4 separate regions of the Homo sapiens genome follow, and all the other regions are linked to region 1. The links are contacts of gene promoters, found by promoter capture Hi-C in human tissues and cell types (Jung and others, 2019). All regions are on one chromosome and are shown on one strand. Each heading gives the region's core, a stretch centred on a gene start or on the middle of the fragment in contact. The rest is flanking DNA. Distances are from core to core; before and after follow the strand shown. Region 1 holds the start of BTNL9 (butyrophilin like 9). Region 2 overlaps BTNL8 (butyrophilin like 8). Region 3 has its middle 18 kb from the start of BTNL3. Region 4 overlaps BTNL8 (butyrophilin like 8).

The links. The method cuts DNA at HindIII sites, captures the fragments that hold promoters and counts their contacts. A contact is called where the count stands out against the background at its distance.
Region 2: a contact is called between a fragment that was not itself captured here and the fragment with the promoter of BTNL9 in region 1, in 4 of the 25 tissues and cell types used here (H1 embryonic stem cells, dorsolateral prefrontal cortex, liver and 1 more).
Region 3: a contact is called between a fragment that was not itself captured here and the fragment with the promoter of BTNL9 in region 1, in 4 of the 25 tissues and cell types used here (H1 embryonic stem cells, lymphoblastoid cells, mesenchymal stem cells and 1 more).
Region 4: a fragment that was not itself captured here is called in contact with the fragment with the promoter of BTNL9 in region 1 in 5 of the 25 tissues and cell types used here (dorsolateral prefrontal cortex, heart left ventricle, mesenchymal stem cells and 2 more).

The regions. Positions count from the first base shown.
Region 1 is chr5:181,035,437-181,041,767 of GRCh38, reverse strand. It overlaps BTNL9 (butyrophilin like 9), which reads right to left and starts at 1,502. Exons shown (of 11, transcript NM_152547.5): 1 at 1,336-1,502. RefSeq lists an enhancer at 4,059-4,985 and a silencer at 5,230-5,608. The HindIII fragment of the contact is 13,573 bases long and covers 1-3,307 here.
Region 2 is chr5:180,920,773-180,926,716 of GRCh38, reverse strand. All of the region lies in intron 3 of BTNL8 (butyrophilin like 8), which reads right to left. Among named protein-coding and RNA genes, the nearest start is that of BTNL8, 25 kb to the right of the region's middle. The HindIII fragment of the contact is 3,989 bases long and covers 1-3,938 here.
Region 3 is chr5:180,968,089-180,974,488 of GRCh38, reverse strand. It overlaps the pseudogene TMEM69P2. Among named protein-coding and RNA genes, the nearest start is that of BTNL3, 18 kb to the left of the region's middle. The HindIII fragment of the contact is 3,778 bases long and covers 704-4,481 here.
Region 4 is chr5:180,941,212-180,947,535 of GRCh38, reverse strand. BTNL8 (butyrophilin like 8) reads right to left here. Exons shown (of 8, transcript NM_001040462.3): 4 at 1-24. It also overlaps the pseudogene RPS29P12. Among named protein-coding and RNA genes, the nearest start is that of BTNL3, 44 kb to the left of the region's middle. The HindIII fragment of the contact is 3,923 bases long and covers 1-3,315 here.

The DNA.
Region 1 (6,331 bases), core at 253-2,752:
GGAAAACAACTTTTCACTAAAAATATAAATCATTCTTATTACAGGAAAACCATAATTTAAGAGACTGAGAAAAGTTTTTGATTCACAAATAAATGGCATCTCCCTAATACACTTAGGACTGTTTGTTTTTAATCAGTGACTCTTAAAAATCACTGCTTCCACCTGACAAACTCAGGCGAATCACTATGGATTGGTGTCCTCTGAGCCACCCTGAAGCATCCCATTTTCTCTACACATGTCCTTTTCTCCAACTTTCAGCAAAGCAAGAATGGAGAAAAAGAGGATTAGAAGGAACTTCAGTTGGTTCCCTGGTGAATAACTTAACAAAATAAAACCTGCTTTTCCATTTGTATTACACATTCACAATCTCTCACTCTTACTTACTCTATTGGTGAATTTCAGATTCTGTCCACACATATAATTATTTGCCTGAACTTAACACTATCTTCCTGACAAATAGTAAATCTCCCAAGGACATCTCCGAACCTGGCAGTGTCCACAGGCCACGTCCTCCCACAGGAGTCCCTCGCCTGCTATGCAGCTGTTGGCGTCCTGAGCGATCCCAGTGTTTCCATGGGGGCAGAGCAAAACCTTGGGGATTCTCTAACATAATTTTAAGACTACATTTCACACTTAAATGACCACGTTATGAAACCTGGCAGGAAAATCCATGTTATTAATAAATGCCATGTCTCTTGCTCTCCCAAACACAGGAAGTATTTTTTGCTCTGCATATGTCTGCGGAGACTGTGGGGTCCCAGAGTGGAAAACTTCTCTAGTAACAAAGTACAGAAATTATCCCTGAAGTATAGTCTTTGCTTTGCTACTTCTGTAAGCTGTGTAACTGGTGAATTTTGCCTGTCTCCTGTCCTCCACTCCCCAAGCTGCAAGTCCGCAGGTGTCAGTGGGGCCTTGGCCCTCTCCCACGGGCCTCCCCGACACCCCCTGCAATGCCCTTCCCCCCGGCAGACCCCAGCTAGTGCTCACTGCCTGCGCTGGTTTGATTTCGATAGGTCCACAAGAGGATTTCCACCCTCTTAGTCTCTAAGGAAGATGGACTGCCCCAAGAAGGGAACCGCAATGAGGCTTGAAATCTTTTTCGTCTGGTGGGGGCAATGGGATGTATCAGGATCCTGCCTCCTGAGATGCGGCCCACCTAAACGGGCGTGGACATCTCCTCTTGGCCACACTCGAAACATCCCATGCTGCGGCCAAGCTCGGATAATAAAATGGTGCCACTAATTGTACGCCTTCCCAAAGCCTCCCACCTTCATTTTCTGATTGCCGTTTCTGAAAGATGGAGGTGTAGGCAGCTGTTGAGAATGAGCCACTTACCTGGCAGGTAGCAGCAAAAGGTCTGAAATGGCAGATGAGTCCTGGTGAGCTCACCTCCTCTGCAAAGGGTGATGATTGCTGTAAAGTGTCTTGGTCCCAGATGCTAAGATTCCCTAGACGTGGACTGGCAGCTGAGCTCCAGAGGCCAGGGCACGTGTGACAGAATTATTTATCCATCTTCCACCCTAAGATATATGCCGTTTGCTCTGCCCTTGGCTATGGAAACCAAGATGGATAGAACAAAACAAGGAAGTCGTCACATCCTGTCTCTGAGAAAAATCTTGAATTCCCATGTAAAATATCTCTCCAGGGTCACAGAAGGAGGGGAAAGGTATCTGAGAGCTTTGTAGAGAGCGACAGCTGCAGAGGCTCAAAGTGAGGAGAAAACGCTCCAGCTGGGTTCAGGGTCTTTGTGCCAGTGAAGCTCGGACTCCAAGGAGGCAGGGTAGCAGTCCCCGAACAGTGAAAGAGAGTAGACTGCAGTCTCCACTAACTAACCACGAGGAAGGGGCTGATGACCAATTTTTAACCCACCATAACCTTCTCCTCAGGACAAGGTCAGTAAGGAACAAATCCTGGGGGCATTGTCGTGAGGCAACCTGCAAAACCTGTTCACGTGCAACTTAGAAATGCAGGAGGGTGCTGGATTGGGATTTCTCTAGTGGAGAAGAGGTCAGAAAAGAAGCAGCAAGCACTACCCCAGCCCAGCCCACCCCATCTTACTGTAGGCCATGGTGCAACTTGGGCATTAGCGGACTGAGGCACCAGCCACCCAGCTGCAGCCCACACTGACGTCCCCTCCAGGGAACAGGCCAGAGCTGAGGCACGAGCAGCTCAAGCACATGCAGTGTTGTGGGAAACTGAGGACCGGAGAGACCGATGTGAAGAACAGGAGGATTGTTTATTTTAGGTACACACCGGCTCAGTGGACTCACATCCAAAAAGCTGAGCATTAAACAAAGACAGAGCGGGGTTTTTGTAAGTGGACTTACAATAAATAAAACAAAAGCAGCTAATCATGATAGGTCACATAATCTATAGCATAGCATAACTTGTGGCCTTGCACAGCGGGTGACTTTGTAGCTGCATTGAAAGAAAAACAAGAACTGGCTAAGTACAGACATTTGTAAAACACAATCATGCTTAAGAAGCCTGGGAAAACAGTAACAGTAAAAGAATTTGTCTTTCTCTCTTTTTCCTTCAACCTTGCTCTGGAAGTGGGGCGGCGGGTATCTGGAGCCCATTCCTTTGGCCTTGGCTTTCTGGACACTGTTATAACTGTCCTTGCAGTGGGCTTGCTATAGGCAGAGGAAAACTTGTCCTTTACTTTTTAACCCTTGCCTTGCCTGTTACTTTTCTTGGAGTGAATGAAGGCATATGTATTTTTAAATTTTCTGCCTCAGTAGCACACCCCAGGGACTCCCAGAAGTGCCTGTGTTTGTAGAGGGGCCTCTGCAGGTGACAGGGCGCTACATGGGTGGGAGACGGGAGCCAGCAAGCTTCAGGCATGGACCTGGAGGTGACTGTCTGTGCTCAGACAGGCTGGTGAGACTGGGCACCCAGGCTTATTAATGTGAACAGATGTCCCTAGGACAGCAAAAGGGGCTGAACAGTGAGCTCAAACAGTGGGTGCAGTTCCCCGGGCCTGGGGAGACAGAGGAGGGCTCAAGGACAGGGTATACTTAAGATGGATGCTGCATAAACAGTAGGATCAGGGAAGCCATGGGCAGCCCGGGAGGACAGAGCCTGCGAGGACAGACATTCTTCGTGGAGGGAGGTGATTAGCATGTGGGAGGTAGGAAAAGGCTAGGGGTTAGCCAGACCAGTGTGTGGCTCACTAGTGGAAGGGAAGGTTGAACAGAAGTGGATGGGACCACATTGCAGAGGCCCTTGCATGCCACATAGGGAAGTGAAAGAGAAGGAAAATTGCACTTGTAGAGAGGGGCTGCTCGAAAACGAGAACATGGCCTAAACTTTTCATTGCCCTTAGGTTGGATTCCTCCATGCTGCCTGGGGAGAGGTGAGATTGTCACAGCAGAAATGCAAAGAGAGAGAGAAATGGGCAGAGTCCACTTCTGTGGCTCCTAGACACAGCCCTGGTGGGATGTGGGAGGGGGACCCCACCTGCCACCACCGCCTGCATATCAGGCGCATCATGCAGTAGGAAAGATGTAGACAGCGGCTGTCCCTGCCAGCCGAACCTCCCATTCCAAGACCCAGTAAATGCATAAAGGCTCAGATCCAAAATGAAGGTAGGTGCTGAACCCCTGGCGGACTATAGGTGCCACTGGAGAGAATGGACCCTCATCTGTCCTTGTGTGGGATTTTTGGGTGTCAATTTTCTTCCCAGAAACCTCTGTGGCACCTGAGTTCTTGTCCTGCCTCCAGGAAGAATGAGGTCATGAGGTACACAGACAAGTGAAGGGTGAAGAAGATGCAGAGAAGCTTTATTGAATGCTAGAACAGCTCAGAGGTGATCTGCAGTGAGCTCCTCTCTGTAGGTAAGTCCTCCCCTCCCACTGAGTGTTCAGCTCTCAGCAGAGAAGGCCCTTGAGAGGGTAGCTCCTCTCTGCCCACTGGTCCTCCTGCCACCTGCTGCTCTCAGCAGACAGAAGTCCCTGGAGAGAGTGGCTCCTCTCCACAGGCAAGTTGTTCTGAACACCTCTGCAGGTCTCTGAAGCTCTCAGCAGAGAGGGTAGCTCCTCTCTGCAGCTGGCCATCCCATCGTTTCTCCATCCTCTGCCCTGCTCTGGCTGAGCCTCAGGCTTTTATGCACCTCAGAGGGGAGGAAGTGCATGCTGATTGGTCCATGGGCAGCCAGAGGGAGACACCACAAGTCCCCACTCCAGTCAGAGGGACTGGCAGCCAGGCCTTCAGGCCCTCCCTGGCCTGAAGGCGGGGCCTTACTGGGGACCCGCCTTCTCCCTCCAGGGACTCTGTCTGCCTCCCACTGCCATTTATGGTCCCTGGCTAGGCCCCAACCCCGCTCTGAGAGTGGGAGCAGAGAGAGGCCAGGCAGTGGGAAGCAGACAGCCCTGAGCCTGCAGGGATGGGGGTTGGGGGGCTGGGTACAGGGTGGTTCTTCCCAGGCCCTGGAGGTGCAGAATGCACAGATGCCGGGGTCCTGCTCCTGGGAGGGTGGCCGAAGCTGCACCCGGGGAGCTCCTGCCCCATCAATTCGGAAGGGGCAGGGCTCCTGCTTGTCCTGGCTCCTGCCTCCTCCGTGGAGCAGGAGGCTGAGGTCTGCAGCTGTGGGTTGGGTGGCTGCAGCTGCACGCAGAAGGGCAGATCCTGCCTGCCCCTGGCTCCCACCCAGGAGCTCAGGGAGGCTTGGATCCACAGCTGCAGTTTGGGTGGCTGTAGACCCACACAGGAGGGTTGGGATCCTGCCTGATCTGTACAGCAGGAGGCCTGGGTCTGCAGTCACAGTTTGGGTGACTGCAGCGGTACCCGGGGAGCTCCCGCCCCATCTCAGAAGGGGCAGAGCTCTTACTGGCTCCGTGAAGTATGCAGCCCCAGCCAGGCCTCCCTGCTGCAGCCCCTGTGATGGCAGCGGCCATCACGTGGAGGGAGGTGATTGGCACGTGTGGGGTAGGAAAGGCTAGGGGCTAGCCAGGCCAGCATGGAGCCATCACTTGGACAGCGGAGAACATGCCCCATTATATAGCTTCCGTGGTGCACAGCAGCCCTCACCATGAGGTCGTCTGAGGGAATTCTGGAGGGGCTAATGGGAGAATCCTCATCCCCAGGGCAAAGGCTATTCTCACGCCCAGCGTGGGCTACCAGTGGAGATAGAAGCAAAGTCATGCCAGCCTCGCAAGTAGTGAATTCCTCCTTTTCTGACGATCCCCCATCCACCTTCCCCGGCAGCCCACAACATGGCCCTTGAGCTTCCTTACTGCATTTTCATTTTCTCCTGTTCCGTTCTCCAGGGAGCTCACACTGACATTCTTGTGCCTGTCAGCTGGCACAGTGCCCCCCATTGTGCTTTGTCACACAGATAGAGACGTGCACAGGCACTGGGAGATAGGAGAGGCCCACTGCTGCCCTCACAGCCACAGGTGCTCATCTTTGGCTCCTGAGATTGTGGGGGCTGCAGGAGCCACACACACCCTCTACTCCCAAACAGCCTGACCTCGCCAAGGCAAGCCATTTTCGAGGGTGACTTGAGTGGTGCTGCCCAAAGGGATCAGCACGGAGCATCCCTAGCTCGGAGGAATTCCTTCACTGCAAGAAGTAGCCAGCACCTTCTCCTGACACACAGAAGTGGGTAGAATAAGGAGCTCCAGCTGCGGGCTTACGCCAGGTAGAGTGAGCATTGGTTATGGAGGAGACCCCGTGAGAACAGCGCTCATCTGAGTCCCGACCATTGGTTATGGAGGAGACCCTGTGAAAACAGTGCTCATCTGAGTCCCGACCATTTGTAGGAGGGAAGTGGGTTGGTGCCCTTATATTACACCTTTTCAGAGAGCCAGCCAAAACGCAGTTTGACAGGGTTTGAGTTGCATAAACAGGTGGTAATAATAATAATAATAAACTAGGGGGAGCTGAGCGTGGTGGCTCACGCCTGTAATCACAGCACTTTGAGAAGCTGAAACAAGGGTCTTGTTTGTGTCCAGGAGTTCGAGAGCCCAGAAGTTCTAGACCAGCCTGGGCAACACAGTGAAACCTTGTCTCCATTACAAATTAAAAACAAATAACCAGGTCGTTTCTTAAAGAGGGTGCTCTTGGTTATTCAAACCTGCTGTCCCCGGCAGACGGTGGGTTCTCCTGTTTCATCCACACTCTCTCCAGGCACCTTTAGGGAACAAATAATACTGTTTGCTTTAACAGGAGGAGAACTTTTGAAGAAAAAAATTATGTTAAATTTCCAAATAAGGCAAAAAGGTAGGTAACATGTCCTTTCAGTGTCATGTGGGCACTGGCCCAGCCACAGATTACTTATGGAAGTGTACTTTGATTACTGTTTGCCATTACTTAAAAACCCCAGATTTAG
Region 2 (5,944 bases), core at 695-3,194, 120 kb after region 1:
GTTTGAACTTCCTGGTGGCTTTGTTTACACTGTGAGGGAAAAACTGCCTACTCAAGCCTCAGTAATGGTGATGTCCCTCTGCCCACCAAGCTCGAGTGTCCTGGGTTGACCCCAGACTGCTCTGCTGCCAGTGAGAATTTCAAGCCCTTGGATCATAGCTTGCTGGGCTCCATGGGGGTGGGATCCACTGAGCTAGACCACTTGGCTTTCTGGCTTCAGCCCCCTTTCCAGGGGAGTGAATGGTTCTGTCTCGCTGCCATTCCAGGTGCCACTGGGGTATGAAAATCTCCTGCAGCTAGCTTGGTGTCTGCCCAAACGGCCACCCAGTTTTGTGCTTAAAACCCAGGGCCCGGGTGGTGTAGGCACCCAAGGGAATCTTCTGGTCTATGAGTTGCAAAGACCATGGGAAAAGCATAATATCTGGGTTGTAGTGCACCATTCCTCATGGCACAGTCCCTCACATCTTCCCTTGGCTATGAGAGGGAGTTCCCCAACCCCTTGCACTTCCCAGGTGAGGTGATGCCCCACCCTACTTCAGCTCCCTTTCCGTGGGCTGCACCCACTGTCTAACCAGTCCCAATGAGATGAGCCAGGTACCTCAGTTGGAAATGCAGAAATCACCTCCCTTCTGCATTGATCTTGCTGGGGGCTGCAGACCGCAGCTGTTCCTATTTGGCCATCTTGCCAGCCACCGCCTGCTGTGGTTTTTTTGTGTTGTGGTTACCATGAGGCATACACAAAATATCCTTTTAACAGGCTATTTTATTCTGATAACTTTAATCACATACAAAAACTCTACACTTTCACTCCTTTCCACTTCTTATGATTTTGATGTCAAAATTTACATGTTTTGTAATTTGTATTTCTTTACAATTTATTTTAGTTATAGGTGCTTTTAATAATTTTGTCTTTTAACTGTGACAGTAGGGATAAATTAGCTTTAAATACCACCCTTACTGTATTAGAGAATTCTGAATATGACTATATATTATTTTTACCAGTGAGTTTTTTACTTCCATATGTTTTTGTTATTATAATCCTTTTGTTTTAGTTAAAGGGCTCCCTTTAGTAATATTTATAAAATAGATCTAATAATGATTAATTACCATAGCTTTTGTTTGTCTGGGAAAGATTTTATTTCTCCCTCATTTCTGAAGGACAGATTTGCTAGTAATGTAATCTTGATTGGCAATCTTTTCCTTCAACACTTTGAATACATAATGCCATTCTTTCCTGGCATGCAGGATTGCTGCTAAGAGAAAGGCTGAAAACCATATTGGGGCTCTCTTGAATGCGATATGGTTCATTCTCTTGCTGCTTTCAGTATTCTTTCTTTGTCTCTGATTTTTTGATAATTGGAATATGATATATCTTGGTAAAATCCTCTTTGGGTTGAATTTGATTGATGACATCCAAGCTTCCTGAACCTGGATATTTTTGTGTTTCACCACATTTGGGAAATTTTCAGCCATTATTTTCTTAAATATGCCTTCGGGATCTTGTTCTCTCTCATCTCCTTCTGAAACTCCTATTATGCAAAAGTCAGTACACTTAATGGTGTCCAATAATTCCTATAGGTCTTTTTCATTTTTTATTCTTTTTTCTTTTTTATTCTCTGACTGGATAATTTAAAATATCCAGTCTTCAAGCCCAGTGATTCTTTGCCTTGATCAAGTCTGCTGTTGAAGCTTTCTAGTTAATATTTTGGTTCAGTTATTGTATTCATCATTTCTAGGATTTTAACTATTTTATTGTTTTTATTCCTTTGTCAAGCTTTTCTTTTTGTTCATTAACCATTTTTCAAATGTTATTTATTTTCTATCTGCATTTTCTTGTAGTTTCCTGAACTTCTTTAAGGGGATTATCTTAAATTCTTAGTGGTCTCATAGACTTGCATATTTCAGGGTCTATTACCGGAGCATTATTAGTTTCTTTTGGTGTCATATTTTCTTGATTTTTAAAATAATCCTTCTGTCTTTGTGTTGGTGCCTGCACATTTGAAGAAATGGCCACCTTTTCTGGCCTTTGCAAGTGTTCTTTCTCAGTAAGAGGTCTTCACTATTTAATATAGCCTGGGATTCTGAATAGGCCAACTGGTAGCAACCTCAGACAGGCAGATGTGGGTGTTGGGTTCTCTAGTTGGGCTGGGCCACTACCTGTGCTCTGACATTAAATGGAACTGCTGGCTGTGCTCCTGTGACAGGTGGTGCTGCTGATTGGGCTCTGCAGTTGCCTGATTGTCCAGGGTTAGAGGTTGTCTTTCTTGCTAGATGGTACTGTTGTTTGGAATCTGTAGTTGGTCAGGGACGTGTGCTGAGCTCTGAGGCTGGGTGAGATTTCTGGGGTTGCTGCTTGATCACTCAGGGTGGGCAGGGCCAGAGGCTATGCTCCACAGATGTGTGTGGACTTGGGCTTGGCTCCTAGTCTAGAGTAGCCTTAAGCAGAACACCAATGGTGGGTTGAGTTGCTGCATAGCTACTGGGTCTGGGCAAGATCAGATGCTCCCTCTGTAGATAATCACAGAGCTGCTATTGTCTTCCTATCTAGGGAATATGCAAAGAGAACCCAAGGCTGGCTGAGTCGCTGCTCAGCTGCTGAGGTTGGCCAGGGCCAGATGCTCCCTGTATGGTCAACTGCCAGTGTGCACTTGCCTCCCACGCTGAGTAAGGCTTAAAGACAGCATCAGGAATTGTGTTGCTACTTGACCAGTGGGGCTCAGTAGGGCCAGATGTGTCTCTCCTCTTATTTTAGTTATTTTAGTAAACTTATCTAATCCTTAATAAGAGTATAAAAATATTTTATTAAATATATTTCTATGTGACATTTTGTGTTATTATACATGGCATATTTGTTTGTTTTTCTGTCTTTGCTGGTGTATAAAATGCAATGTATTTTGTTTACTGATCTTATTTTTATGAACATAATGAAGTATAAATTGAAAGAATTTGTCTGTAGATTAATCCAGATTTCCAATGTGTATTATCATATAACCTGTTGGAAATAGGCATTCTATTTTTTCCTTCCTGGAAATTGTAATTCTTTTTTCACTTTCTTTCTTTTTTTGCAATGATTACTATTCCAGCATATTGTTGAACAGCAATGTTTAATGCAGTTATCTTCATTAAGTTCCTGGGTTTAAACCTCCTACCATGATGTATCATGGTAGCTATGGGTATTTTTAAATAGCTTTCTATCAGATGAAAGAACTGCTCTTCTGTTGCTAATTCATAAAAGGTTTTCTTTTATTTCTGGATTCACAAGTGTTTTAAATCATAGTTAGATGTTGAAACTTATATATGTTTTATTAACATCTATAGAGAATCTTATAGATTTTCTCCTTTAACTTATTAAGGTAATACTTACATAAATATACATATCCCAATGTTGACCTAACCTTTTATTCCTGGGTAAGCTCAATTCAGTCATAATATATTAGGTTTTTTAAAAAACATTTGCTTGGAGTTTATAAAATTTCTAATTGGAATTTTACATTTATGTTTCTGAAAATTTCTTATTAATATTTTTTAAACTGCCTTATTGGCTAAATCCTCCAATTAAAAGGCACAGAGTGGCAAGCTGGATAAAGAAACAAGACCAAATGGTATGCTGTCTTCAAGAGACTAATCTCACACGCAACAACATCCATAGGCTCAAAATAAAGGGATGTAGGAAAATCTACTAAGCAAATGGAAAGCAGGAAAAAGCAGGAGTTGCAATTATAATTTGAGACAAAACAGACTTTAAACCAACAATAATCAAAAAGACAAAGAAAGGCAATATATGATGGTAAAGGGTTCAGTTCAACAAACATAACTATCCTGAATATATATGCACCCAACACAAAAGCACCCAGATTCATAAAGCAAGTTCTTGGAGACCTTCAAAGAGATTTAGACTTCCACACAATAATAGTGGGAGACTTCAACACCCCACTGACTGTATTAGATAGATTATTGAGGCAGAAAATTAACAAGATATTCAGGACCTGAACTCACACTGGATCAAATGGATCTCATAGACATCTACATAACTCTCCACCCAAAAATAACAGGATATACATTCTTCTTATCACTACATAGCACATACTTTAAAACTGACCACATAATCAGACACAAAACACTTCTTAGCAAATGCAAAAGAACTGAAATCATAACAACCGCTCTCTCAGACCACAGCTCAATACGATTACAGATCAAGGCTAACAAAATCACTCAAAACAATACAATTACATGGAAATTGAATAACCTACTCCTGAATGACTTTTGGGTAAATAATGAAATTAAGGCAGAAATTAAGAATTTCTTTGAAACTAATGAGAAAAAAGACACAACATACCAGCACCTCTGGGACACAACCAAGGCACTGTTAAGAGGGAACTTTATAGCACTAAACAACTACATCAAAAAGTTAGAAAGATCTCAATTTAAGAACCTATTATCACAACTAAAAGAACTAGAGAACCAAGAGAAAATCAATCCCAAAGTTAGCAGAAGATAAGACATAACAAAATCAGAGCTGAACTGAAGGAGATTGAGATATGAAATACCATTCAAAAGATCAATGAATCCAGAGTTGGATTTTGAAAAAAATTAATAAAATATATAGACCACTAGCTAGGCTAATAAAGAAAAGAGAAAAAAATATCCAAATAAACACAATCAGAAATGACAAAGGGGATATTACACTGAGCCAAAAAAATACAAATAACTATCAGAGACTATTATGAACACCTCTATTCACACAAACTAGAAATTCTAGAAGAAATGGATACATTTATTTAAAGGTGTTAATTTATTTTTCTGTTTTGTTTTTTGTTTCATAAAACCATTTATCAAGTATGATAGGTATGATTCACATGTAAAAAGCTGTACATATTTAATTTATACAACTCAAAGAGTTTGGTGATAAGTATATACCCATTCAAATCATCACCACCATCAAGACTATAGACATATCCATCATCTCCCGTAGTTTCCTCCTACCCCTTTTATTATAATTATTACAATTATTGTGTGTGTGTCTGTGTGTGTGTGTGTGTGTGTGTGTGTGTGTGTGTAGTATGAGCAGAATATAAGATCTACCCTCTTCACAGAATTTAAGAATACAATAGTTTATTGTTAGCTACAGGCACTGTGCTGTATAGTAGATCTCCAGAACTTCTTCATCTTGCACAAATGAAACTTTTTTATACCTTTTGAATATCACCTTCCCATTTTTCCCTCCCCTCATTCCCTGGCAATCACAGTTATGCTCTATGATTCTATGACTGATGATTTTAGATTACACATATAAGTGAGATCATTTTTATGTCTGGCTTATTTTACTTAACATAATGTCCTCCATGTTCATCCATGTGTCGGGATTACCTCTTTTTTATTGTTGAGTAATATTTCATTACATATGTCACTTTTTAAATCCATTCATCTGTCAGCAAATAGATTGTTTTCATATCTTGGCTACTGTGAACTATGCCACAATAAACATGGAAGTGCAAGTATCTTTTTGAAATCCTGACTTCAATTCTTTTGGATAAATGCACGGAAGCAGGATTGCTGGATTATAAATTATCAATGAGGTTACTTATTTTATATAATTTTGTACACTGCAACTTTACTAAATGTATTAGCTCTAACAGTTTTTTGTGGAATCTTTAGGGTTTATCTACATATAAGACTATGTAGCATAGTTCTATTTGTATTTTTTTAAGGAATCTGCATACTGTTTTCCATAGTGGCTGTATCAATTTATATTCCCAGCAACAATGTAGTAACACCTGTAATATTTCTTAAGTTAGTAATAACCAGTCTAACAAGTATGAGGTGATCTCTCCTTATACTTTTGATTGAATTTCCCTGATGGTTAGTGATAGTGAGTCACTTTTCATAAATCTCTTGGCTATTAATATTTATATGTCTTTTGGGGAAAATGTTTATTCATGTACTTT
Region 3 (6,400 bases), core at 1,343-3,842, 68 kb after region 1:
CAAGAAGTTTTCCTGTATTTTTTTTAGAATTTAAATGTTTTGAGGTATTATTTTTTAAGCTTTTAGTCCATTTTGAGTTTGTTTTTGTGTGTGGTGTAAGATAGGGGTCAGATTTCTTTTGCGGGCAGATGTCCGGTTTTACCCACATCAGTTATTGAAGAGACTATCAATTTCCCATTTTGTCTTCCTGGTGAACTTGTTGACAATTAATTGGCCATATGTGCTTGGGTTTATTTATGAGTTTCTTATTTTGTTCCATTGGTCTATGTGTTGGCTTTTATGCCAGGAGCATTCTGTTTGATTTCTGTAGCTTTGCAATACATTTTGAAGTCAGGAAGTATGATGCTCCAACCTTATTTTTCTGTCTCAATATTATTTTGATATTTAAAACTTTTTGTGGGTTTATACAAATTTTAGTATTTTTTGTTTCTGTGGAAAATGCCATTAAAATTTCTATGTAGTGTTAAACCTATCGATCATTTAGGATATATAGAAATTTTAGCAGTATTAATTCTTCCAAACCAAAACACAGGATATCTTTCTATTTATTTATTTATTTACTTATTTATTGAGAGAAGGTCTCACTCTGTCACCCACGCTGGAGTGCAGTGGTGTGATCATAGCTCACGGAACCCTCAAATTCCTGGGCTCAAGTGATCCTCCCTCCTCAGCCTCCCCATTAGCTGGAACTACAGGCATGTGCCGCAATGCCTGACTAATATTTTAGGATTTTTTTTGTTTTTGTAGAGATGGGGTCTTCTTTCTGTTTATTAATGTTCTCTTTAATTTCTTTCATCAATGTTTTATAGTTTTCAGTATACAGATCTTTTACCTGAACCAGGCATGGTGATTCACACCTGTAATCCCAACAATTTGGGAGGCCACTAGAGGACAGGAGTTTGAGACCAGTCTGGGAAACATAGCAAGACCCCATCTCTAAAAAAAAATTTTTCTTTGGAAAGGTGGTTCAGATCTTTTATTTCCCTTGTTAGATTTATTCCTATCGTTTTGTAGCTTTTGTAAATGGTATTGTTTTCTTGACTTCCTTTGTAGATATTTCTTTGTTAGTGTATAGAACCAGCTGATTTTTATGTTGATTTCACGTCTTGTAACTTTACTGAATTTATTTATTATTGCTAATAAGTTTTTTTGGTGGAATATTTACAGTTTTCTAAGTAAAGGATCATATTATATGCAAACAGAGACACTTTTACTTCTTCCTTTCTGATTCGTATGGCTTCTCTTTCTTTTTCTTGTCTGATTACTCTTGCTAGTACTTTCAGTACTGTGTTAAATAGAAGTGGCAAGAAGGAACATCCTTTTCTTTTACCAGACCTTAGCAGAAGCTTCAGTTTCCCTCATTGATAATGATATTCTTTGTGGACTTGTCATAAATGGCCTTTATTATGTTGAGGAAATTTCCTGCCATCTTTATCTGTTTGGGCTGCAATAGCAAAATCTCTTAAAATAAGAAATTATAAACACGAAAAATTTATTGCTCACAGTTCTGGAGGCCGATAAGTCCAAGATCAAGGCATTAGCTGATTCAGTGTCTGGTGAGAGCTTGTTCTCTGTTTCAAGATGGCATCTTCTTATTTTTACATGGTAGAAGGATGAACAACTCTTTTAGGCCTCTTTTATAAAGGCACTAATCCCATTTTTGAGGGAGAAACCCTCCTGACTTAATCATCTCCTAAAGCCCACACCTCTTAATACTATTGCTTTGGGGTTTAGGTTTCAACATATGAACTTTAGAGACACAAACATTCATACCACAGCATCTTCTATATCTATTTTCCTTGGATTTTTTAACCATGAAAGGATATTAAACTTCATCAAATGTGCTTATTGCATCTATAGAGATGATTATGTGGTTTTAATCTTTCATTCTCTTAATGTGGTTTATCATATTGATTGTTTTGCATGTACTAAACCAACCTTGTATCCCAATGATAAATCTCACTTGGTCATGGTGTATAAACTTTTTGATGTGTTGTTGAATTTGGTTTGCTAGCAATTTATCAAAGATGTTTTGCATGTATGTTAATCAGAGATATTGGTCTGTAGTTTTTTTTACTTGTGGTGTGTTTGGTTTTGGTATTAGAGTACTGCTGGACTCATAAAGCGGTTAGAAGTGTTTCCTCTATTTTTATTTTTTGGAAAAGTTTAAGAAGGATTGGTGTTATTTCTTCTTTGAATGTTTGGTAGAATTCAGTTGTGAAGCCAATTGGTCTTGGATTTTTCTTTGCTGGGAGGCATTTTATTACTACTTTAATATCTTTGTAATTGGTATGTTCCGGCTTTCCATTTATTCTTGGTTCAGCCTTAGTAGGTTGTATGTTTCTAGGAATTTACCCATTTCCTCTATGTTATCCAATTTGTTGGCATATAATTGTTCATAATAGTCTCTTATGATCCTTTTTATTTCGAGGGATCTGTTGTAATGTCTCCTCTTTAATTCTGCTTTTGTTTCTTTACTTTTTTTCTTAGTATAGCTAAGAGTTTGCCAATTTTATTCTTCTCTAAAAGGCAATTTTTATTTTTGGTATTTTTCTATAGTTTTTCTACTTTCCGTTTGACTTTTTTCTATTCTAATCCCTATTATTTTCTTCCTTTTGCCAGCTTTGGCTTAGCTGCTTCTTCTTTTTCTAGTTCCTTGATGTGTACAGTTAGGTTGTTTATTTGATATCTTTCCACTTCTTAAATTTAGGCATTTATCACTACAAACTTTCTTCATACTACTGCTTTTATTGCATCCCATAACTTTTAGTATGTTTTTTCAGTTTTATTCAGTTCAAGATGTATTTAAAATTCTCTTTTTGATCCAGTAGTTTTTAAGATTATGTTAGTTTCCATGTATTTGTGAATTGTCCACCTTTCTTCGTTATTGATTTCTAGTTCCACTTCATTGTGGTCAGAAAAGATACTTCATACAATTTTGATCTCCTTAAATTTGTTAAAACTTGTCTTGTGGCTTCACATGTGATGTATTTTGGAGAATGTTCCTTGTAAGCTTAAAAAGAATGTGTATTCTTCTGCTGTTGGGTGAAAAGTTCTGTACATGTCTGTTAAGTCCATTTGGCTAACGGTGTTGTTCAAGTTCACTATTTCTTGATTTTCTGCCTGGATATTCAATTTAATACTGAAAGTGGAGTGTTAAAGTTTCCTATTATTGTTCTACTGCTGTCAATTTCTCCTTTCTTCTCTCTCAATGTTAACTTTAGGTGCTGTAAAGTTGGTTGCATATACGTTTACAATTATTCTATCTTCCTGTTTAATACACCCTTTTATCATTACGTAATAACCTTCTTTGTCTCTAGGGACAACTTTTGACTTAAAGTTTACTTTGTCTGATATATGTATAGCCACTCCTATTTTCTTTTGATTACCGTTTGCATGGTAACATATCCCTCTTATCTAACAAAAGTTTTGTACTCCTTGGCAAACATCTCCCTATTGCCTCCCCTGCCCCCAGCCTCTGGTAGTCACCATTCTACTCTGCTTCTGAGTTAAGCTTTTTTGCATTCCACATATAATTAAGAGCATGCAGTATTTGTCTTTCTGTGCCTGGCTTATTCGTTTAGCATGATGTTCTCCAGATTCATCCATGTTGTCACAAATAAGAGGAATATTTTCTTTTTAAAAATCAGTAGTGGCTCAGTCAGTCGCTCTGTGCGTGCCATGGCGCTCGGGAGGGGGCGGCTCCTCTGGTGCCCGGCGTCAAACATGGTGGAGGCGGTGGATCTGGGCAAAGACCCCAACGGGCCCAACCATTCCTCGATTCTGTTCACCAGGGAGGACGGCAACTCTAGGTCCTTATACCTGCTGCCCAGCCCAGCCAAGCAGCTGCTGCACCACTCGGTGCAGGAACCCAGGCCACACCGCTGGCCCAGCCTGGGGACGCCTCCAGCAGCTTTGTTGTCTGCGCAGTGCGTCCCGGACCGCGTAGAACGCTGCAGCGGCTGGAGCTGGCGGCCTATGGGCTGGGCCCCGCCTACGCGGCCCACTCGGGCACCGGCGGTGGGGGGGGGGGGTCCCTGGCAGAGCGCGCCGTGGAGCCCAAGCCGTAGTCGCTGGTGGGGCCGCCTTCAGGGATGCGGGTGACGTGGCTTTTCAGGCCTACGTGAAGGAAAATGCCTGCTCGCCCTGTTCGGTCGCGGGCAAAGCCTGTGGGAAGCGATGGAGGAAAGCCGGCTCGCGGAAGAAAGGCCCCTCAGAACCTATGGGGCCAGGAGCAGGGAATGCCCCAGGAGCCCCCGCTGCGCTCCCAGACGCTCAAGCAGAAGGCAGAGCAGGACCCGGAGCCTGAGGATTGCCGGGAACCATGGAATAAGAGAATTCCAGCTTTGCCTGAAGAACATGTGAAGGAAGAAACCCAGAAGCATGAAGCAGCCATCAAAAAACATGCCTGCGGAAGCCACCAGGGAGTTGGATGAGAGCCCTGATTTTTTTTTTTTAATTTTTTTATTTTATATTTTTCAAGACAGTTAAAGCATTGAAATGTTTAAGCGGGTGACTATATAATTCATAACATGACTCAGTGAAAACAAATTTAGTATGAGACTGAGAGGTGACAACGTGCTGGTGACCCGTGCTCGCTCTCAGTGCTTCCTGGGCTTCCATTCTGGCCACCTTGAGGAGCCCTTCAACCCGCCGCTGCACTGTGGGAGCCCCTGTCTGGGCTGGCCGAGGCTGGAGCCGGATCCCTCTGCTTGTGGGGAGCTGTGGAGGGAGAAGCATGGGTGGGAACCGGGACTGTGGTGGCGCTCGCAGGACCCAGGCCAGCAGCTGTGGAGGGTGCGTGGGGTCCCCCAGCACTGCCAGCCCACCCACGCCCTGCTCGATTTCTTGCCAGGCCTCAGCCGCCTCTGGCGGGGCAGGGCTCGGGACCGGCAGCCCGCCATGCCTGAGTCCCGCCCCCCCAACCTGCACGGTGGGCTCCTGCGGGCCCGACCCTCCACGACTGCAGCGTCCGGTCCCATCAAGTGCCCAAGGGCTGAGGAGTGCAGGCGTGCTGCGCAGAACTGGCGGGCAGCTCCACTTGTGGCCCCTGCAGGGGATCCACTGGGTAAGCCAGCTGGGCTCCTGGGTCGGGTGAGGACTTGGAGAACTTTTATGTCTAGAGGGAGAAGTGTATATGCACCAGTCAGCACTCTGTGTCTAGCTAGGGATTTGCAGATGCACCAATCAGCATTCTATCTAGCTAATCTGGTGGGGACTTGGAGAACTTTTATGTCTAGCTGGAGGATTGTAAATGCACCAATCAGCACTTTGTGTCTAGCTCAGGGATTGTAAATGCACCAGTCAGCACCCTGTCAAAATGGACCAATCAGCTCTCTGTAAAATGGACCAATCAGCAGGATGTGGGTGGGGTCAGATAAGGGAATAAAAGCGGCTGCCAGAGCCAGCACCGGCAACCAGTTTGGGTCACCTTCTGCCCTGGGCAAGCTTTGTTCTTTAGCTCTTTGCAGTAAATTATGCTGCTGCCCACTGTTTGGGTCTGCAGTGCCTTTGTGAGCTGTGATACTCATCTCTAAGGTCTGCAGCTTCACTCCTGAAGCCAGAGAGACCACGAACCCACCAGAAGGAAGAAACTCCAAACACGTCCGAATATCAGAAGGAACAAACTCCAGACACACCATCTTTAAGAACTGTAACACCGTGAGGGTCTGTGGCTTCATTCGTGAAGTCAGGGAGACCAAGAACCCACCAATTCTGGACACAAGATGAAAATGACTTGTCAGGGATTTTCGTGCTCCTGCTTAAGTAATTACTATGAAGTAACAGTTTCTGGAAATGAAGAATAATGTGTGAAGAATAAATTACCATTGGTGTGGGGGAGGGGAGAGGCAAACAGGAGAAGTAGAAAAAGGTGTAGCCAGTGTACCAGTGTTATCTACAGTGTAGTTCTATGCCTTTTCTACTTGACCAGGTCGCTTAGGTCCATTCTGTGGGTAAATATTTTTAACACTAAAGTGATTATAAATGAAAAAGTGGCCAATAAAGTGACTACTTTCCTCAGGGCTTTGAACCAGTTGGGATAATGTGGCAAAAGAAACAGATGTGTAATGCTATCCCCGTTACCTATGATTGCTATGGCTTCGCTGAGTCTTTCAGAAATAAGGCAAACCGTGAAAACAACAGGAACTGTACTATTAGCTAAATGAAGGAAGTCGGGTTTGGCTGGACTGCCTTCTGATACAGCAAAACCCCATCTGACCACCACAAGGATAGGAAACTGGCTCCATCTGAGTAAAGGCTAATAGGGGAATATAAGTCTTTGTCATTAGCAGGACCAGTGGTGGACCAATGAAGGGGATTAGTCCTGCCAGAGTTACCTATAATGCTGGCTTTGGGCTGTCAGGCAGGTACATGATGGTGCTTGGTGGCCTGGCTGGAA
Region 4 (6,324 bases), core at 105-2,604, 94 kb after region 1:
ACGATATAGGCTCGAAAAAGGTATCTGAAAAACAATCCCACAGACATTTTAGTTATTGGTGAACAAAAGACACAATTCAATTCTTCTTTAAGGAGTCACCTTGTTCCCCACAATGGAAGAAATAGGTTTCTATAAATTCTCCTATAGGCTTAATACTTTGATTGTACTTTTGTTATAAAATGAGGTAGTGGTTCTATTTAATTTTCTTCTCAACAGATAACGACTGTGCCAACATTTATTGAATGGACATTCCTTTACACACTGATACGTGCAGCATCACCTCTGACCCAATAAGCTTTCTGTTTAGGTTTGGATTTGTTTCTGGGCTCTCTGCTCTGTGTCATTTGTCTACTTGTCCACTTTTGTGCCAATAATTTTGAGTGGCTTAATCACCACAGTTCCGGGATATGTCTTGGTATAAACTAGACTAAGTTTCCTCACTTCTTATTCAGTTGTGCCTTGGCAACTTTGCTCTGCGACATAAATTTTTGTATTGACTTGTCAAGTTCTAAGAAAATTCTGCTGAGATTTTGAATGGAATTGTATTGAATCTATAGATCAATTCAGAGAGAACTGATGTCTTAAAATATTTGCATCTTGTCTGAAAAACTATCTCTTCCCTCCTTTTATTACTATTATTTAAATTGACAAATCACATACATATTAATGGGTACGGTGTGACTCTTTGATACATGCCTACAATGTGGAATGATTAAATCAAGCTAATTAAGACATCCATCATCTCCCTTACTTATCATTTTTATGATGAGACATTTAAATTTTATTCTTTCTGTTATTCTGAAATATACAATATATTATTGTTAACTACAGTCACCCTGTTCTTCAGTAGACTTCAAAACATATTCCTCTTGTCTATCTCAATCTTTGCACCCTTTGACCAACAACTCCCCATTCTCTCTTGCCCTCTGCCCCAGCCTCTGGTAACATTCTACTCTCTATTGTTATGAGTTCAACTTTTTTAGCTTTGACATATATCAGATCACAAGAGATTCATCTTTCTGTGCTTGGCTTATTTCACTTAGCATAATGTCCTTCAGGTTTATCCTCGGAGTTGCAAACGACAAAATGTCCATCCTTTTTTTAAAGGCTAAATATTGTATTCCATTGTATTTATAGATCACATTTTCTTTATCCATTCATCTGAATGATGGACACTTAGACTGAATTTAGCAATTGTGAGTAATACAGCTATTCCATCAACATATTGATTACAATCCATTTTCATATATTCCCACAAGTAGGACTGCTGAATCATAGAGTAGTTCTATTCTTAGTTTTTTAAGAAAACTCCATACAGTTTTCCATAATTGCCATACTAATTTACATTCCCACCAATAATGTATGAGTTCCTTTTCTCAGCATCCTTGCCAACACTTATCTTTAATCTTTTTGATAATAGCCATTCAAAGAGGTGTAAGGTGATATCTCATTGTGGTTTAATTTGCGTTTCCACAATGATTAGAGATGCTGAGCATTTCTTCATGTACCTGTTGTCCATTTATTTATTTATTTATTTATTTATTTATTAATGTTTATTTTATGTACAAAGAGCTATCATGGTTTTTCATTGCGTAGATGCCTTGGATAATCCATTCAAGGAAGAGCACTTAGTTCAACTTAATGAAACATATGTCCTTTGCGTGCTGATGGAAACACTGCCAGCACATATTGAGGCCATATTTCCGGATCAGACTCGACAAGAGCAAGAACCCTGACCGAATTTTCATGAGTGGCTCCAGTACAGCTGCTGGTGACCCATCTTGCTCTCAGGAGTGCAACTAGGTGAAAGAAGAGAGTTAGCGCAAGCCTACACTCTCCCTGTTGTCCACTTAAATGTAATTTTGAGAAATGTTTGTTCAGGTCCTTTCCCCTTTTTTAAGATCAGGTTATTTGTTTTCTTTCTATTGAGCTGTTTGAATTTCTTATATATTTTGGTTATTAACCCTCTATCAGCTGTTTGGTTTGCAAATATTTTCTCTCACTCTGTGGGTAGTCCTTCACCTTGTTAACTGTTTTCTTTGCTGTACAGAAGCTTTTTAGTTTGATGTAATCCCATTTGTCTATTTTTGCTTTTTTGTCTGTGCTTTTTATGTCATATTCAAAAAAATTATTGCCAAGATCAATGTCATGGAGCTTTGCCCATATATTTTCTTCTAGCAGTTTTATAGTTGCAGGTCTTATGTTTAACTTTTTAATCTGAGTTCGTTTTTGTACATGGTGTGAGATAAGGGTTCAATTTCACACATGTGCATGTGGATATCCACTTGTTTCAATATCATTTATTGAAGAGACTGTCCTTTCTTCATCCTGTGTTCTTGGCACCTTTTTCAAAAATCAATTGTTCATAAACACATGGGCGTACTTCCAAACTTTCCATCCTGTTCCATTGAGTGATGTGTCCGCTTTTGTGCCAGCCCCAGGACGTTTTAATTATAATCACTTTATATTTTGAAATCAGAGTATTGTGACTCTAACTTTGTTATTTTTGCTCAAGATTGCTTTGGCTATTTGAGATCTTTTGTGATTCCATATGAATTTAAGGATTCCTTTTTTCTTTATCTGTGAAAAGTGACGTTAGAATCTTGAGAGAGACTGTATTGAATCTGTAAATAGCTTTGGGTAGTATAAACATTTTAACAATGCTAATCCTTCCAATCCCTGAACATGGAATATATTTCCTTTATTTGTGTTCAGTTTTTTAAGTTTTATTTTACTTTGTATTGATGTAATAATTGTTCATATTTACAGGGTACAAAATGGTGCTTTGATATATGTGTACAATATGTAATGATCAAATTAAGGTATCACCTAAAACATTGATCATTTAAGGTGAGAACATTCAAAATCCTCTTTTCTAGCTATTTTGAGATATGTAATATGTTATTGGTAATTATAGTTACCCTACTGTGCAATAGAAGACTGGAACTTATTGCTGCTATTTAAATATAATTTTGTACCTGATCAACCTCTCCTCATCCCCTGCAATCCCTCTACCCTTACCAGCCTCTAGTAACCACTATTCCACTTTCTACTTCTATGAGATCAGCTTTTTAAAAGAATTTTAATTGCCTCATAATAACTGTACATATTTATGTGGTACAATGTGATGTCGTGATACATGTATACATTGTGTAATGATCATTTCCATCACCTCAAACACTTGTCGTGTCTTTGTGGTGAGAACATTCAAAATCCTCTCTTCTAGCTATTCTGAAATATACTATACATTCTTGTTAACTATAGTCACTTTGCTATGCAACAGGACACCAGAACATTTTCTTCCTATCTAATTGTAACTTTGTATGCATTGGCCAGTCTTTCTCCATTCCTCCCTCTACCCTATCCCCAGCTCCACCAGTCTCTGGTAACCCCTACTTCTCTACTTCTATGAGATAAACTTTTTGGATTCCATATGTGGGTGAGATCATGTGATATTTGTATTTCTGTGTCTGGCTTAATTTACTTAATGTCTTCTAGATTCTGTACCTCTATGAGATCCATTTATTGGATTCCACTTATGGGTGAGATCATGTATGGTTTAATGTAACTTAACGTAGTGTCTTCTAAGTTCATCCATGTTGTTGCAAATAATAGGATTTCACTCTTTTTATTACTGAATAATATTCTATTTTGTATATACATCATATTTGCTTTTCATTAATTTGTTAATAAACACTTAGGTTGATTCCATATCTTAGCTATTGTGAATAGTGCTGAAATAAACATAGGAGTGCAGATTTCTTCAACATGTTGATTTTCTTTCTTTTGGGTATACTCAGTACTTTGATTGCTGGATCTATGGTAGTTTTGTTTTTAATGTTTTGAGAAATCTCCATAGTGTTTTCCATAATGAACACACTAATTGAAAATCCCACCAATGGTGTGTAAGTGTTCCTCTTCTCCACATCAACAATTGTTATCTTTTGTCTTTTTGATAATAGCAATTTTAACTTGAGTAATGTTTTATCTCATTGTAGTTTTGATTTGCATTTCCCTGATGACTAGTGATACTGAACAGATTTTTATATATCTGTTGTTCATTTGTATGTTTTCTTTTAAGAAATGTATATAAGGTCTATCATCCTGGCCAGGCACGGTGGCTCATGCCTGTAATCCCAGCACTTTGGGAGGCTGGATGGATCACCTGAGGTCAGGAGTTAGAGACCAGCCTGGCCAACCTGGTGAAACCCCGTCTCTACTAAAAATATAAAAATTAGCTGGGTGTGGTGGATGGTGTCTGTAATCCCAGCTACTCGGGAGGCTGAGGCAGGAGAATCACTTGAACCCAGGAAGCTGAGGTTGTAGTGAGCCAAGATTGCGCCATTGCACTGCAGTCTGGGCGACAGAGCGAGACTCTGCCTCAAAAAAAAAAAAAAAAAAAAAAGTCTATCTTCCCTTTTGTGATTGGATTATTTGGGTTTTTTCACTCTTGAGTTGTTTGAGTTCCTTATATCCTGGATATGAATACCTAGTCAGATGTATAGTTTGCAAATATTTTCTCCCATTCTGTAAGTTACCTCTTCACTCTGTTAATTATTTCCTTTGTTGTGCAAAAGCTTTTCAGTTTGATATAATCACACTTGTCTGTTTCTGCTTTTATTGTCTGTGGTTTTGAAATCACATAAAAAAAAATTATTGCCCAGTCCAATGTCCTGAAGCATTTTTCCTATGTTTTCTTCTAGTAGCTTTATAGTTTCAGGTTTTACATTTTAGCCTTTAATTCATCAAGAGTTTATTTTTATATATGGTGAGAGATAGGGGTTAGTTCATTCTTCTGCATATTGATACTAGCAAATGCAGCACTATTTTTTGAAGAGACTCTTTTCTCTAATATATATTCTTGGCACCTTTCTCAAAAGTGAGCTGACTGTAAATATGTGGATTTATATCTGGGTTTTGTATTCTGTCTCATTCTTCTGTGTGTCTGCTTTTATGCTAGTACCACGCTGTCTTGGCTAGCATGCTTTTGTAGTGTATTTTGAAGCTCCATAGTGTGATACTTCCAGCTTTGTTCTTTTATTCAGTAATGTTTTGGCTGTTTGGAGTCTTTTGTGGCTCCATATGAATTTTAGGATTTTGGTTTTTATTTCTTTAAAGAATGTCATTGGTATTTTGATAAGGATTGCATTGACTCTGTAGATCACTTTGGGTAGTGTGGTCATTTTACCAATCTTAATTCTCTTACATCAGGAACATGGGGTATCTTTTCATTTGTTTGTGTTCCCTTCAGTTCTTTTCATCAATGTTTTGTAGTTTTTATTGTATAGATCTTCACCTCCTTGGTTAAACTTATTCCTTGGTATTTTATTTTGTTGTAGCTATTGTAAATGATACTGCTTTCTTGATTCTTTTTCAACTAGTTTGTTATTGGTGTGTAGAAACACTACTGAATTTATATGTTGATTTTGTATCCTGCAACATTACTGAATTTGTTTATCAGTTCTAAGAGGTTTTTTTGATGGAATCTTTAGTTTTTTTATATAAAGATCATGTTGTCTGCAAACAGGGACAATTAGACTTTCTCCTTTCCAATTTAGATGCCATTTATTTTTTGCTCTTGCCTGATTGCTCCGGCTAGGACTTCCAGTACTTTGTTGAATAAGAGTAGTAAAAGTGGGCATCCTTGTCTTGTTCCAGTTCTTATTGAAAAGCTTTCAACTTTTCCCCATTCTGTATGATGTTAGCTGTGAGTTTGTCATATGTGACCTTGATTGTGTTGAGGTACATTTCTTCTACATCTAAACTGTTGAGAGTTTATATCATGCAGGATGTTGAATTTCATCAAATATTTTTTAATGTCTATTGAGATGATCATATACTTTTTGGTCTTCATTCTGTTGATGTGATATATCAAATTTATTGATTTCCATATGTTGAACCATCCTTGCATCCCTAGAATCAATCCCACTTAATCATGGTGTATATTCTTTTTGATATGCTATTGGATTTGGATTGCTAGTATTTTGTTGAGAATTTTTGCATCTATGTTCATAATGAATATTGGCCTGTAGCATTCTCCTTTTTGTTGTATTCTTTTCTGATTTTGGCATCAGGATAATACTGTCCTCATGGAATGAGTTTGGAAGAATTCCCACCCCTTCAACTTTTTGTAATACTTTAAGAAGAGAAGGTGTTAGTTCTTTAAAAGTTTAATAGAATCCAGCAGTGAAGTCATCTTGTTTTGGGCTTTTGTTTGTTGGGATACTTCCTACTGCTGATTCACTCTTGTTACTCATTATTAGTCTGATTAGGTTTTCTAGTTTTTCCTGACTCTATTTTAGTATGTTCCATGTGTTTATGAGT